2 separate regions of the Homo sapiens genome follow, and region 2 is linked to region 1. The links are contacts of gene promoters, found by promoter capture Hi-C in blood cells and fetal thymus (Javierre and others, 2016). All regions are on one chromosome and are shown on one strand. The core of a region is centred on a gene start or on the middle of the fragment in contact, and the rest is flanking DNA. Distances in the headings are between cores, read along the strand shown.

Region 1 (6,042 bases), core at 623-3,122:
GGGCACCCTCCCTTTCCACAGACATTAACCCCCAAACGTGAGAGCGGGCTCCCAGCCACCTGGAAGGCAGCAGCATCCACGCCGCCGGAGCTGGTGTCTGAGGGGCAGATGGCATGGACAGGCTCCTCCCTTCAGGCATTGCTATGTCCTGGGAAGGAACAGAGAGAGGAATACAAGGATGATGGGAGTCAATTCAGTAATTCCAAGTGGGACATTAACATGCCAGCCCTCTGCTCACTGAGGGACAGAGTGGTCTGCCCAGAGGAAGCATGGTAGCCTGGGCCCGAGCTGCGGGACTGAGTGGCTGCCCTCCTGAAACCCACCCTCCTCTGTCCAAGAGCAGGAGCTGTGTTCAGCTGGGCAAGGCTGATGACTGAAGCCTGGCTGCTGGTGCCTGGGAATAAATCAGAGGCTGACGATGGTCACTGGAGAAGAACAGCAACAAGGCATCAGTGACGATTGCCACCTGTCAGTCGCCTCCTCAGAACCACATCCTGAGCTGAGCTGTGACTAACTTGACCTCTGCACCTCTGTGAAAAAGGATATGGCTGCCCGTTTTCCAGCAAGGAATGAGGACTGAGGGCAGCTCTTGGCTTTGGTTGGCCAGGGCTTGAACCTTCTGTTTCTGGGCAGAACTAGAGCCATAAGGGGTGATCCAAAGGGAAGGCAATTCCTGGGTTCACCCATAAACTCATAACAGAGTTGTTATACTTTCTGCTGAGATAAATGACTTCTTTTATTTCCCTTTTGGAGAACAATTGCCCAATGTTCTGGCTAGTTTTTATTTGGCTTAAATTTTGGAATGAAAGGAAAGTATGACCCATTAGTGAAGCTGGATGTGAAGATGGAGAAAGTGTGTATGCCTGTGTCTCCATGAGAAAGACAAGACTAAGCAAGAAATACTAACCCCTGAGCAGCAGGTCAGGCCCTCTTCTGGAAATGAACCTAAAGTTAGGTCTCTGTGTACTTTCTAATTATATTAGTCTGTCTTCACACTGCTATAAAGAACTATCAGAGACTGGGTAATTTATGAAGAAAGAAGATTTAATTGACTCAGTTCTGCAGGCTTAACAGGAAGCATGACTGGGAGGCCTCAGGAAACTTATAATCATGGTGGAAGGTGAAAGGGAAGCAACGCACATTTTCCTATGGTGGAGCAGGAGAGAGAGAGTGACGGGGGAAGTACCACACACTTTAAAACTTTCAGATCTCATGAAAACTCACTATCATGAGAACAGCAAGGGGGAAGTCAGCCCCCTGGATTCAGTCACCTCCCACCAGGCCTCTCACCAATTCAACATGAGATTTGGGTGGGTACACAAATCTAAACCACAAAATTTGACCCCTGGCCCTTCCCAAAGCTTACGTCCTTCTCACATTGCAAAATGCAATTATCCCTTCTCAACAGTCCCTGAGTCTTAACTCATTTTAGCATTAACTGAAATCTCCACAGTCCAAAGTCTTATCTGAGACAAGATAAGTCCCTTCCAGCTATGATCCTGTAAAATAAAAAATAGTTACTTCCAAGATATAATGGGGGTATAGGCATTGGGTAAATGCTTCCATTCCAAATGGAAGAAATTGGGCAAAAGAAAGGGGCTACAGGCCCCATGCGAGTCCAAAACTCAGCAGGGCAGGCATTAAACCATAAAGCTCCAAAGTGATCTCCTTTGACTCTGTGTCCCACATCCAGGCCACACTGACACAAGGAGTGGGCTCCCATGGCCTTGGGCAGCTCTGCCTCTGTGGCTCTGCAGGGTACAGCCACCATGGCAACTTTCATGGGCTGGTGTTGAGTGCCTGTGACTTTTCCAGGTGCATGGTGCAAGCTGTCAGTGGATCTACCATTCTGAGATCTGCAAGACAGTGGCCCTCCTCTGACAGCTCCACTAGGCAGTGCTGCAGTGAGGACTCTGTGTGGGGGCTCCAACCCCACATTTCTCCTCTGCACTGCCCTAGTAGAGGTTCTCCATGAGGACTCTGCAGGCAGACTTCTGCCTGGACATCTAGGCATTTCCATATATCTTCTGAAATCTAGGCAGAGGTTCCCAAACCTCAGCTCTTGACTTCTGTGCACCTGCAGGCCCCACACCATGTGGAAGTCACCAATGCTTGGGCCTTGCACCCTCTGAAGCCATGGCCCAAGTTGTACCTTGGCCCCTTTTAGCCACAGCTGGAGCTGAAGCAACTAAGATGCAGAATGCCATATTCTGATGCTGTACAGAACAGCTGGGCCCTGGGCCTGGCCCATGAAACCATTTTTCCCTCCTAGGCCTCTGGGCCTGTGTGGAAGGGGCTTCCATGAAGGTCTCTGACATGCCCTGGATACATTTCCCTCATTGTCTTGGCTATTTGGCTCATCTTTACAAGCAAATTTCTGCAGCAAGCTTGAATTTCTCCCCAGAAAATGGGTTTTCTTTTCTACCACATGGCTGCGCTGCAGATTTTCCAAATTTTTATGCTCTGCTTCCCTTTTAAATATAAATTCCAGCTTTATATAATCTCTTTGTTCACGCATATGAGCATACACTTTTAGAAACAGCCAGGTTGGCCGGGTGCAGTGGCTCATGCCTGTAATCCTAGCACTTTGGGAGGCCATGGCAGGTGGATTGCCTGAGCTCAGGAGTTCAAAACCAGCCTGGACAACACGTGAAACCCTGTCTCTACTAAAAATACAAAAAAAAAAAAAATTAGCTGGGTGTGGCGATGTGTGCCTGTAGTCCCAGCTACTCTGGAGGCTAAGGCAGGAAAATTGCCTGAACCCAGAAAGTGGAGGTTGCAGTGAGCTGAGATCGCTCCACTGCACTCCAGCCTGGGTGACAGCAAGAATCTGTCTCCAAAAATAAATAAATAAATAAAAATAATAAAACAAAGAAACGGCCAGGTCACATGGTTACATGTTGAACACTTTGCTGCTTAGGTATATTTTCCACCAGATACTCTAAATCATCTCTCTCAAGTTGAAGTTCCACAGGTCTCTAGGGCAGGGGCAAAATGCCACCAGTCTCTTTGCTAAAGCATAGCAAGAGTCACCTTTACTCCAGTTCCCAATAAGTTCCTAATCTTCATCTGAGACCACCTCAGCCTGGACTTCATTGTCAATATCACTATCGGCATTTTGGTTGAAACCATTCAACAAGTCTAGGAAGTTCCAAACTTTCCCACATCATCCTATTTCTTCTGAGTCCTCCAAACTGTTTCAACCTCTTCCCATGACCCAATTCCAAAGTTGTTTCCACATTTTCAGGTATCTTTGTAGTAATGCCCCACTTTCCTGGTACCAATTTTCTGTATTCATCCATTCTCACACTGCTATAAAGAACTACCTGAGACTGGGTAATTTATGAAGAAAAGAGGTTTAATTCACTCAGTTTCACAGGCTTAACAGGAAGCATGGGTAGGAAGCCTCAGGAAACTTACAATCATGGCAGAAGGGGAAGCAAGGTACATCTTGTGGTGGAGCAGGAGAGAGAGAGCGAAGGGGGAAGTGCTGCACACACTTAAACCGTCAGATCTCGTGAGATCTCACTATGATGAGAACAGCAAGGGAAGTTGGCCCCTTGGATTCAATCACCTCCCACCAGGCCCCTCCTCCAACTTGACATGAGATTTAGGGGTGACACAAATCCAAACCATATCACTAATCTTCCCTTGTGGCGAGATGAGCAGCTCAGTGTTTGCACAGCCTGAGGAATGAGTGAATTGCTGCAACTTAAACTTCCAGCAGGCAGATGACAAGCTGTCCATTCGACACAGTCAAAGGCTTGGTCTTACGCTGCGTGTGTGACTACAAGCAGACCCTCTCTCGCCTGCGTGAGGAAGTGGAGTTGATACCTATTACATGGCTCAACACTTTAGTCATCGGGTCCTCAGGAAGTTGGAAGCCTCTAAGCCCAGAGGCAGCCTGGACCCTTCCTCACAGATGCTTGGTGCTGGCAGTCCCACACTGTCCCCCACGGTGGCAAGCGGTGGTGTTTCTGGAATGTTCCACTTCACCCTCGTTCCTGTGTGTTCTCCTGCCCATGGTCTGTTGTCACGAGGCCTGTGCCCTGACGCTGGATCTGCCTGTCTCCGGCCGCTGCTGGGTCCTGCTCTGCACCTTCATGAGAAGCCATCTAGGAAAGTTTCTTCTTGTTTCTCCCGACTGGGGTTCATTCCCATGGGACTGGGGAACTGGGACTTTGCCCCGCTTTAAAGTTCTCCCTCTGGCTTCCTCCGTGGGCTATAGCCCTGACCCCACCCCAGCACGGAGAGAGCCAGTCGGCATCCTGGCTGCCCACTCAAGCTGGTGCCGTCACAGGGAGAGGCTGGGTTGGGAATCATGACGTCTTTGGATAGAGAGCTTTGCTTTTCACCTTCATGCCAGTTGTTTTCATGAAATCCACAGAAACTTCCTTTAGAAGAAGTCTTACCTAGAAGCCCACCCTGTAAATGAAGTGAAACAGAATTCTCTGGTGAGAGGAAGGTGGAATCTGGGACCCCACAGGTGGTTCTGTGGCCCCCTAGAGACCCCCTTCTGTGGTGGCTCCAGAATGTGGCCCCATGTGGTGTGTTGGTGGCTTCCCATGACATGTGTGCCTGTGCCCCCCACGCCATGTCCTCTTCTTGGTGCATCTGCAGCCCCCTCATGTCTGAGGCCTCCTCAGTGCTCTCTTTCTGGGCCCCTATCCCCATAGCCTCCACCTCCTGTGGCATGTCTGTGGTCCTCTCCTTGGTGCACCCATGGAGAGGTGCACCTCTGTCGTATACTGAAACACATCCGGGCTCTGCAGAGTTCAGCAGGCCACGCTTCTACTTCAGGCTGCCTTTCAGGAAGAAAAGTTTCTTCCCCAGCTTGGGGATTGTGATGGGAAAAACAAGATACCGGGGAGGGGTGATAAAAGAGGAGTGTGGTGGGAACTTGTTCTAGGAAAAACATTCAGTGGCGGACTTCCTGGAGAGGCTTGGACCTGAGCTCTTGGGAAGCTTTGCAATCTCTCCCATCGTGCTGAAGGGGAAACAGAGGCCGTGTAGGTTGCTGGGGCCAGTGGGCCTGTGCCTTGATCCGCCCGGAGCAGGCTGGAGGATTCAGTGTCTTGGTCGCCATGATCCCAGACACCATGCTAGGTGACATAGAGCCTCTGGCAAAACAAAGGGGACAGACTGGCTCCTTCCTCAAGAGGGAGTGTGTTGCTTCAGTAAAGCCACCCTGAGCTTTAAGGCAGAGTTTTAGGGTAAGAGTTCAGGCAGCTGAAAGCCATCAAGTCAGCGGGGCTGAGATCCTCCCAAACTGGGGCAAGGACCAGGGCTTGGATGTCAGAAGTAAAGTCAGAGGCCGTCTGGGCCAAGGGGACCCCTGAGCACACACTATAAGCATGGCGGGCGGTGGCAGGACTGCACCTGGGCACTGAGTGTCCACCACCTGACACCCCTGGGGAGCAGGGGCTGGCATCCCAGGGCTGCACCGCGACCCAAGGAGAGGCTCCTTGACCAACAGTTGCAGGTTGCAGCTCCCAGGTGTGGAGCACACTTGAAGATTCTCACTCTGGTGACCCAAAGCAGGATCAGCTGTGGATGCTTGTGTTTTGTTTCGCTTAAAGTTTCCCTTTTGTGGCTGGGCGCAGTGGCTCACGCCTGTAATCCCAGCACTTTGGGAAGCAGAAGTGGGTGGATCACCTGAGGTCAGGAGTTCGAGCACAGCTGGCCAATGTGGAGAAACCCTGTCTCTACTAAAAATACAAAAATTAGCTGGTCCTGGTGGCGCACACCTGTAATTCCAGCTACTCAGGAGGCTAAGGCAGGAGAATTGCTTAACACCGGGAGGCAGAGTTTGCAATGAGCTGACAGGGTGCCACTGCACTCCACCTGGGTGACAGAGCAAGACTCCGTCTCAAAAAAAAAAAAAAGGTTCCTTTTTGTCCCATGTCCATGTTCTCGGCATGCCGGGACCACTGCCTGTCCGTGGAGGTGTCTGGCCCAGCAGGGTCACTGCTGAGCAAGCAGAGAGGTGGGCCCATGTTCCGGGCTGGGCTGGGAACGTATCCCTGACTCCAGGCCCAGGAC
Region 2 (6,983 bases), core at 1,274-3,773, 270 kb after region 1:
TCTGTCTCTCTCTGTCTTTCTCTCTGTGTCTCTCCTTGGCTCTCTTTCTCTGTCTTTCTCTCTCTCTCTGTCTCTCCCTCTCTCTGTCTCTGTCTCTCCCTCTCTCCTTCTCTGCCTCTATCTCTCTGTTTCTCTTTCTCTGTACTTTCTCTCTCTCTGTCTCTCCCTTTCTCTCTATCTCTGTCTCTCCTTGTCTCTCTTCCTCTGTCTGTCTCTGTCTTTCTCTCTCTCTGGCTCTCCCTGTCTCTTTCTTTGTCTCTTTCTCTGTCTCTATCTCTCTGTTTCTCTCTGTCTCTGTCTATGTCTGTCTCTCTCTTTATCTCTGTCTCTCCCTGTCTCTGTGTCTCTGTCTCTCCCTCTCTCTTTCTCTGTCTTTCTCTTTCTCTCTGTCTCTGTCTCCCCATCTCTCTTTTTCCCTGTTTCTGTCTCTGTGTCTTTCTCTCTCTGTCTCCATCTCTCTCTGTCTCTCTGTCTCTGTCTTTGTCTCTCTCTCTGTCTCTGTCTCTCCCTCTCTCTGTCCCTGTCTTTCTCTGTCTGTCTTTCTCTCTGTCTCTCTCTTTTTTCTCTGTCTCTCTCTCTCTCCCTGTCTCTCTTTGTCTGTCTCTCCCTGTCTCTGTCTCTGCCTTTCTCTCTCTGTCTTTCCCTCTCTCTGTCTCTGTTCCTGTTTCTCTTTCTCTGTCTCTGTCTCTCCTCGTCTCTGTCTCTACCTCTCTCTGTCTTTGTCCCTGTCTCTGTTTCTGTCTTTGTGCCTGTCTCTCTTTCTCTGTCTCTCCTTGTTTCTGTCTCTCCCTGTCTCTCTTTCTCTGTCTCTGTCTTTCTCTCTCTGTCTTCCCAAGTCCCCACCCTTCCCTCCAATCTGCGCTGTGCTCGGAAGCCAGGAGTCCTTAAATGCAAACGTGATCTCTTCCTTCTGGCCTCCCTTTCTGAGTTCCTGTGTCCTAGGGGCAAAGGTCAGGCGCCTAAACTCGCTCATCTCTGAGTGACGCCCCCAGCGCCTTCATCTCCATTACTCAGCGAATGTCGATGAGCCCTGTGCAGGGTGGAGGTGGGGGCGGGGGCGGCTCTGGGTCCTTATCGCCCAGCGGTGCAGACTGAGATAAAGGAACCAGGAGGCTAGGGAGAAAGTCCCATGCCTGCCGGGAAGGCCCCGGCTATGGAAGGAGCCATGTGGGCAGTGGGGGCAGGGGGCCAGCGAGGGCCCCCAGGGAGGTGAGCCCAGAGGCTGAAGGAGGCAACGGGAGGAAGGCCTGGGGAGGCGCAGGGTGTGGCACCGTCCCTGGCCTCAGGAAGGCTGGTCCGGGATTCCAGAGCTTGAGGTCTCCTAGATGGGAGAGACGTGAGGGGAGGCCCAAGTGGGGGCCCAAACGGGCAGCGCCCGACAGAGGATGGCCTCCAACTCCCTGTGCGGAAAACCAGGAGAGAATCCCACTCTGGCTTTGGAGACACAACCCCCAGGATCCTCTCCTGAACTCCCCGCAACGTTCCTCCTGCCCCTCCTGGACCCCGTGGTCAGCCCTGTGGCTTCCCTGCACGGCCTCTTTGCTGGGGAGCAGGAACACCATCTCCTTCGCTGTCCCATGCCCGGCACAGGACTGCCCCCCACAAAGTGCTCCACAGAAGGACAGAAACCGTGCAGTCACCGGGAAGGTGGGGATCTGGGGTGGCTGCAGGTTCCATGACACAGGACCCTCCATCCCCCGTGACCCCAGAGGGCCCTTGGGGACGAGGCTGCCCTAGAGGGTGGCTCTGGGTCCTGAACCTATGGCCGGGAGCTGAACTCCTCCTGCTCGATGTTCTCCAGCTCAGCCAGGGATGGGATCCGGGCATCCAGGCTGGGGTTGGGCAGCGTGAGCTGTTCATTATGAAGTTCATTACGAACCCCAGAATGAAACTGTGGCCCAGGGGGCACAGCCACGGGAACCCCACTCTCAGGTTGATTCAGGCCACATCCCAAGGAGCCGTGGTTCCGTGGGGACTGGTGGGAAGCCGGGCCCCCGAGCAGCCGTCTAGAGCCCAGAGCCAGGCTGGAGGGGTCCAGGGCCTCGCTGTGCTTGGTGTGAGCAGACCAAGAGCTGCCCCAGGGCCCCTGCTCCCGCTGAGTTCCCTCTCCCTGGACTGGGGTGGGGGCCGGGGATGCCTGTGCTCCAGGGAGCTGTGGAGAGGCCCACCCGGCGTCCTGCAGGTGGGGGTGTGCGGCAGCCAGGGGCTCCCAGACCGGGGCAGAGCCAGCATCCTGTTTGCCTTGGTTCTTTCTCCCCGGGGTGCACCGGCGTTTGTACGCATTTGTGTGTGCGTTTGTGCAGGGGGAGGGGTGGCCAGCGCCCACGGAGCAGCCTCCGGTTGCCCGAAGGCAGTGGGTGGCTCTGCTGGCCCCGGGGCCGGGCGTCTCTGCAGATAAGGCATTAACAGTCCCTCCGCAGACGCACCCTGCAGATCTGCTGACGACTGGCTCCGTTCTGCCCAGGTGCCTGGGGCGAGGTGCCAAAGGTTCTCTATAAAGTGCCCGGCTCCCGGCCCACGGCCACTCGCCCTCCAGCTTCTGCCCTGCCTGCTGTGTGCGGAGCCGTCCAGCGACCACCATGGTGAGGCTCGTGCTGCCCAACCCCGGCCTAGACGCCCGGATCCCGTCCCTGGCTGAGCTGGAGACCATCGAGCAGGAGGAGGCCAGCTCCCGGCCGAAGTGGGACAACAAGGCGCAGTACATGCTCACCTGCCTGGGCTTCTGCGTGGGCCTCGGCAACGTGTGGCGCTTCCCCTACCTGTGTCAGAGCCACGGAGGAGGTAGGCTGGCCGGGCGGGGCTGCGGGCGAGGCCGTGGCCAGGGAAGCACAGACACACGCAGAGGCCCTGGGCAGACATCCTCCCCGGACCCTCGGCTCCCCAAGCACGGAGGGGAGAGGAGAAGCCGCAGGGTGTGGGGGGAGCTGGGGCCCCCACGGGCCCCCGTGCCCGGTTCCTAGGCTGCTGGTGAGGAGATGGGCCTGGCCGGCACGACCCCAAGACTTCGTGTGGGGCTCCAGGGAGGGCCCTGTGTTCCAGACTGGCAGTCCTGGAACGTTCTGGCCTGAGGGTGGGGCCGGGGGAAGGGTGTTTCTCCCGGTACAGCCCCTCCTCGGAGGACGCGGGGCTGGGCCCTCCTGGGCATCACCTCTCGTCCCAGCCCCACAGGCGGACACCTGCCAGTGCAGGGAGCAGAGGAGGTAGCTGGGTTGGGGGCAGGTGACCCTAGAGGAGCAGAGTGGGTAGCCGGAGCCTGTGGACTCGGGCCTGGCTCTTGAGCCAGGTGCCCTCAGGCCTGGAGGCCGGGAGCCGCTGTGCCCACCCAACACACAAGCCTGACTGCTCCTCGTTCCTCTGGCTCCTGCGGCCCAGGTAGGCATGGCCGCTGCTGGCACAGAGGTGACATTTGTGTTCCTGCCCAGTGGTCCTGAGCATCTGAGAAGTGGCTCCCAGGCCTGGCAGGGGGCTGTACCTAGGACCCCCACACTTGAACTCAGCCTTGGGCTTGGCGAACCCCAAAGCTGCTGCCCTCATAAACCTGCTGCTTTCTCAGCGGAAGGTCCAGGAGGGCCGGGCACCCTTGGGAAACAGGCTTCCTGCTGCCCTGGGGCAGTTCACGGGGGGGCCGTGAAGGTCTCAGCCTCCGTTTAGAGGAGTCTGCCCTCAGGGGGCCCTGTTCCTTCTCACCATGGAGAGCTGCTGTCTCTCACGCGGGCTTTGTGATGTGAAGGTTTTTAAAGAAAAACAGAAATGGGCTTTTCCTGAATCAGTTTCGCCTCCAGCATTGTCAAGGAGTTGATCACTGCCTTGCGGGGGTGGGCGCTTCATGAGCCTCTGGTCCAGCCTGCACTTTCCACTGGAGGCAGGTCGGGGGACCTTGGCCACTCCGATACTATAGTCCCTGACAGTCCCCAAGTCTCAGCTCACCAAAGCCTCAGGGGACTTCCTGGCCACTGTCCTCGCCCCCTCCCCCAGGGCCCTATCCTGTGGGGAGGATCCCTGCGCTCACCCACACCCTGAGTTTGTTTAGCTTGGAGGAGAAACTGAGTCACAGGCTCACATCCCCACTGGGGATGGAGGGGCAGACACATGCCTCCTGGGAAGAGGAGGGGTTGGGACTGCCTGAGCCTGCCTGGGAAGTTATTTGTCTTTGCACAGAAGGGCAAGTTCTAAGATGCGGGCTTGGGCAGGAATCTGATGGGGCTCCCAGCACCTCAGATAGTCCCCGCTCTGACACCCAGAGACCAGCCGCTGTGCACGGTGGAGCCTGGGAGCGAGCAGCTTTCAAGCAGCGGGTGCTGGCGCTGCACCCTGGGCCATGCTGGGGTGGACAGGTGCGGGCAGCGGGCAGCGGGCAGCGGGTTCCGGGCAGGCAGGCCCAGGTGAGGAGGGCCGAGCAGGGCTCTGGGATGTGCTGGGTCTCAGATGGTCCCACTCCTGGGGTGGACACCAGCAGGCCCTTCTCCCCAGACCCCAGACAAGCTTCCCCTGACCTGGCCCTTCGGCTGGGCCACCAGGTCACCTGCTAGACTCTGAGGGCCACTGTCACCTGGGCCCCCATCAGCTGCGGCATCGCAGATGGCTCCACAGGGTTCTGGCAGTCGCCCCGGCCTGGAGGAACCCTGTGCCTTTTGGTCATGCTGTGGGGGCTGACCAGGACCCCACATACCAGACCACCAGCCTGAAAGAGCTGAAGCCCACACTGCAGCCAGAGGGACTCGGGCCAGAAGGGCAGGGCCCCGAGAATGGGAGACGGCTCTGCAGGCCACCGGGTTTCCCAGCAGGGCACCCGTCTCCTGGTGAATCCAATCTGGGCCGCAGCTCTGCCACAAGGGAGCTTTCAGGGAGGCAGCTGAAAGGACCCGGCGACACAGGGTCCCCTCCTATGGCTCCTGGGGGCCTCATGGGCACCAAAACAGTGGGGCAGGCTGCGTCCCTGGGAGGCCACACCCACAGACAGCGCACTCTCTCTCTGTGCATCTTAGTGAGGGCCCCAGCATGCATGCCTTGTCAGTGACACCAGATTTCCTAATTGATGCGGGTCATCGAGACCAAATCGAGGGGAAGCAGGCAGCCAGGTCCTCCTGGTTCCCTCTTGGAAGCCTCCTGAGTGTCTGGGATTGTCCTTCGAGGTTAAAAACCATTTACGCGTGCCTCCGAGTCTCCTGTGTCTTAACAGATTTTGCCCTCCTTGGAGAGCCTGTGCCAGGTGGGCAGGCTCAAGGGACACTTTCCTGAGGAAGGGCATTTCCAAACTCAGCCGCCCCACTCACCTGAGCCGTCTCAAGGGCGTGCTGCACCTGGGCATTCTCACCTGGGAAATGGGTGTGATGGCGGAGCCCCCCGAGGGTGGTGCTGGGGGCAGTGGGCAGGTGTGCAGGAACAGCAACCAAAAGCCGTGAGGCGTGGTCAGCCAGGGCTCACCCCACTCACCCCCACCTGGGAGCACCACATCCCCACGGCAGGGCCCCGCAGTGCCGGTGGCGCAGGCGGAGACGCATTCATGCCCACCTGTGTCCGTCCAGAAACCTCAGTTGCCCCGTGTGTCCCCGTCAGTGGCTGCTGATAGAGCCCACCCCACAGCTGGCCCCTCAGGGGCTGCCCCCCCAGCTCCTCTGCACAGGGCAGTGATGGTGTCCGTGAGCGAGGTGGCGTGCGGGAGCCGGAGGAGCCACCCCTTCCAGGACCATGTGGCGCCAGCACAGCTGTTTCCAGCTGTCTCTTCTTTGCTGCTCAACGCCTGGCCCCGGGGTCAGCTTTCCCCTTAGTCCATCTGCAGCTAATTCTTAGCAAAAATCCATGCAGCATTTACTTGGTGCCACAAACACCACCTGCTGGAGAGAGAAAAAAGGGGAAGCTTAGTCCCTGCGTGAGAACTGCAGCTCCCTCCTCCCCCTCTCTCCTGGTTTCCTACTTTTTCAAGGACAGACAGGAGGAACTGTTTCTGTGCCCAGTGTCTCTTTCCCTCTGGGTGCTTTCCATTTGGCCACGTCCCCACCCCATTCTCTCGGTTACCTGCTTCCACCTGAGTGAGCCAACATCTGCAGCGCCGCAGAGAGGCCTGGTTTCCAGGGACCTTTGCAACCACGTCCAGGCGCCCTGCAGGGCCCCACCAGGCAGAGCCACGCAGTGTTCCCTGGGCGCTGGCCGCCCCTTTCCTTCTCTCCTTCCTCTGCACCTCACCCCACACTAGGAAGAAGTCGCTGCGTTTAAAAGACAAATATTCATATTCTGGTGGCTTTAATTGTCAAGAATGCTTGGCTTTCCTTGAGTTTCTTGGGGCAGGACAGCCTCCTTCATTGGGAGCAACGGAGGGCCTGGCTGCCTCCGGGCTGCATTTGGGGTGGAGTGGGTGTGTGCCCCCCACCCCCAGTCCTCTCTGTTCACTGCTCCATGCTGAGCCTGAGCCCCAGGGGTTGGGGATTTGAGGGTCTCCTGCCCGGAGGAACCTTCAGAAAGGAGAGCCACCAGGAGCAAGGGCAACAACTGAGACTCTCAAAAGAGGGGACACCCTGGTGGGGTTTTCAAGGATGAGTAGGAGTTTTCTCAATGGAGATGAAGCGATAGGAAGACCCGAGCATTTAGGGTTAGGGCATAGTGGAGGGAAGGGAGAGGGTGGAGGACACTGGGGATCATGCACTTGCTTTTTCTTGGTAGTTTTGTCTGGAAGAGTTTCAAATCAAGCTCTTGGGAAAAAAAAATTGGAGGAGTGAATCTTTTCTTATTTTAACCTAATGAGCAGGCCCTGCTGGGGTCTTGGGTGTCCCTGCAGGTGAGCCTGCAGCCCCCACACCCTCCCATAGGGACCCGCTGGTGAGCATCTCCTGCACCTGGCTACCATTCCCTTCTGCCTTTCATCTCTCGATGAATCCAGCATCCCGCCAGCCCACCCTACACACCTGGCTCTGCTGCTGCCACCTGCAGCTCCTGCTTCTGAAGGAACCTGTCCCTGGAACCCCAGCTCAGAGAGAGGGGCCTGTGTG

What was found. Contacts are between HindIII fragments. The CHiCAGO score rates a contact against its expected background, and 5 or more counts as called.
Region 2: a contact is called between the fragment with the promoter of SLC6A19 here and a fragment that was not itself captured in region 1, in 1 of 17 cell types (M0 macrophages). The highest score is 5.6, in M0 macrophages.

What each region holds. Positions count from the first base shown.
Region 1 is chr5:932,329-938,370 of GRCh38, forward strand. No RefSeq gene overlaps it. Among named protein-coding and RNA genes, the nearest start is that of TRIP13, 42 kb to the left of the region's middle. The HindIII fragment of the contact is 1,026 bases long and covers 1,360-2,385 here.
Region 2 is chr5:1,199,072-1,206,054 of GRCh38, forward strand. It overlaps SLC6A19 (solute carrier family 6 member 19), which reads left to right and starts at 2,524. Exons shown (of 12, transcript NM_001003841.3): 1 at 2,524-2,781. The coding sequence starts at 2,580. RefSeq lists an enhancer at 4,992-5,555. The HindIII fragment of the contact is 15,195 bases long and covers 1-4,480 here.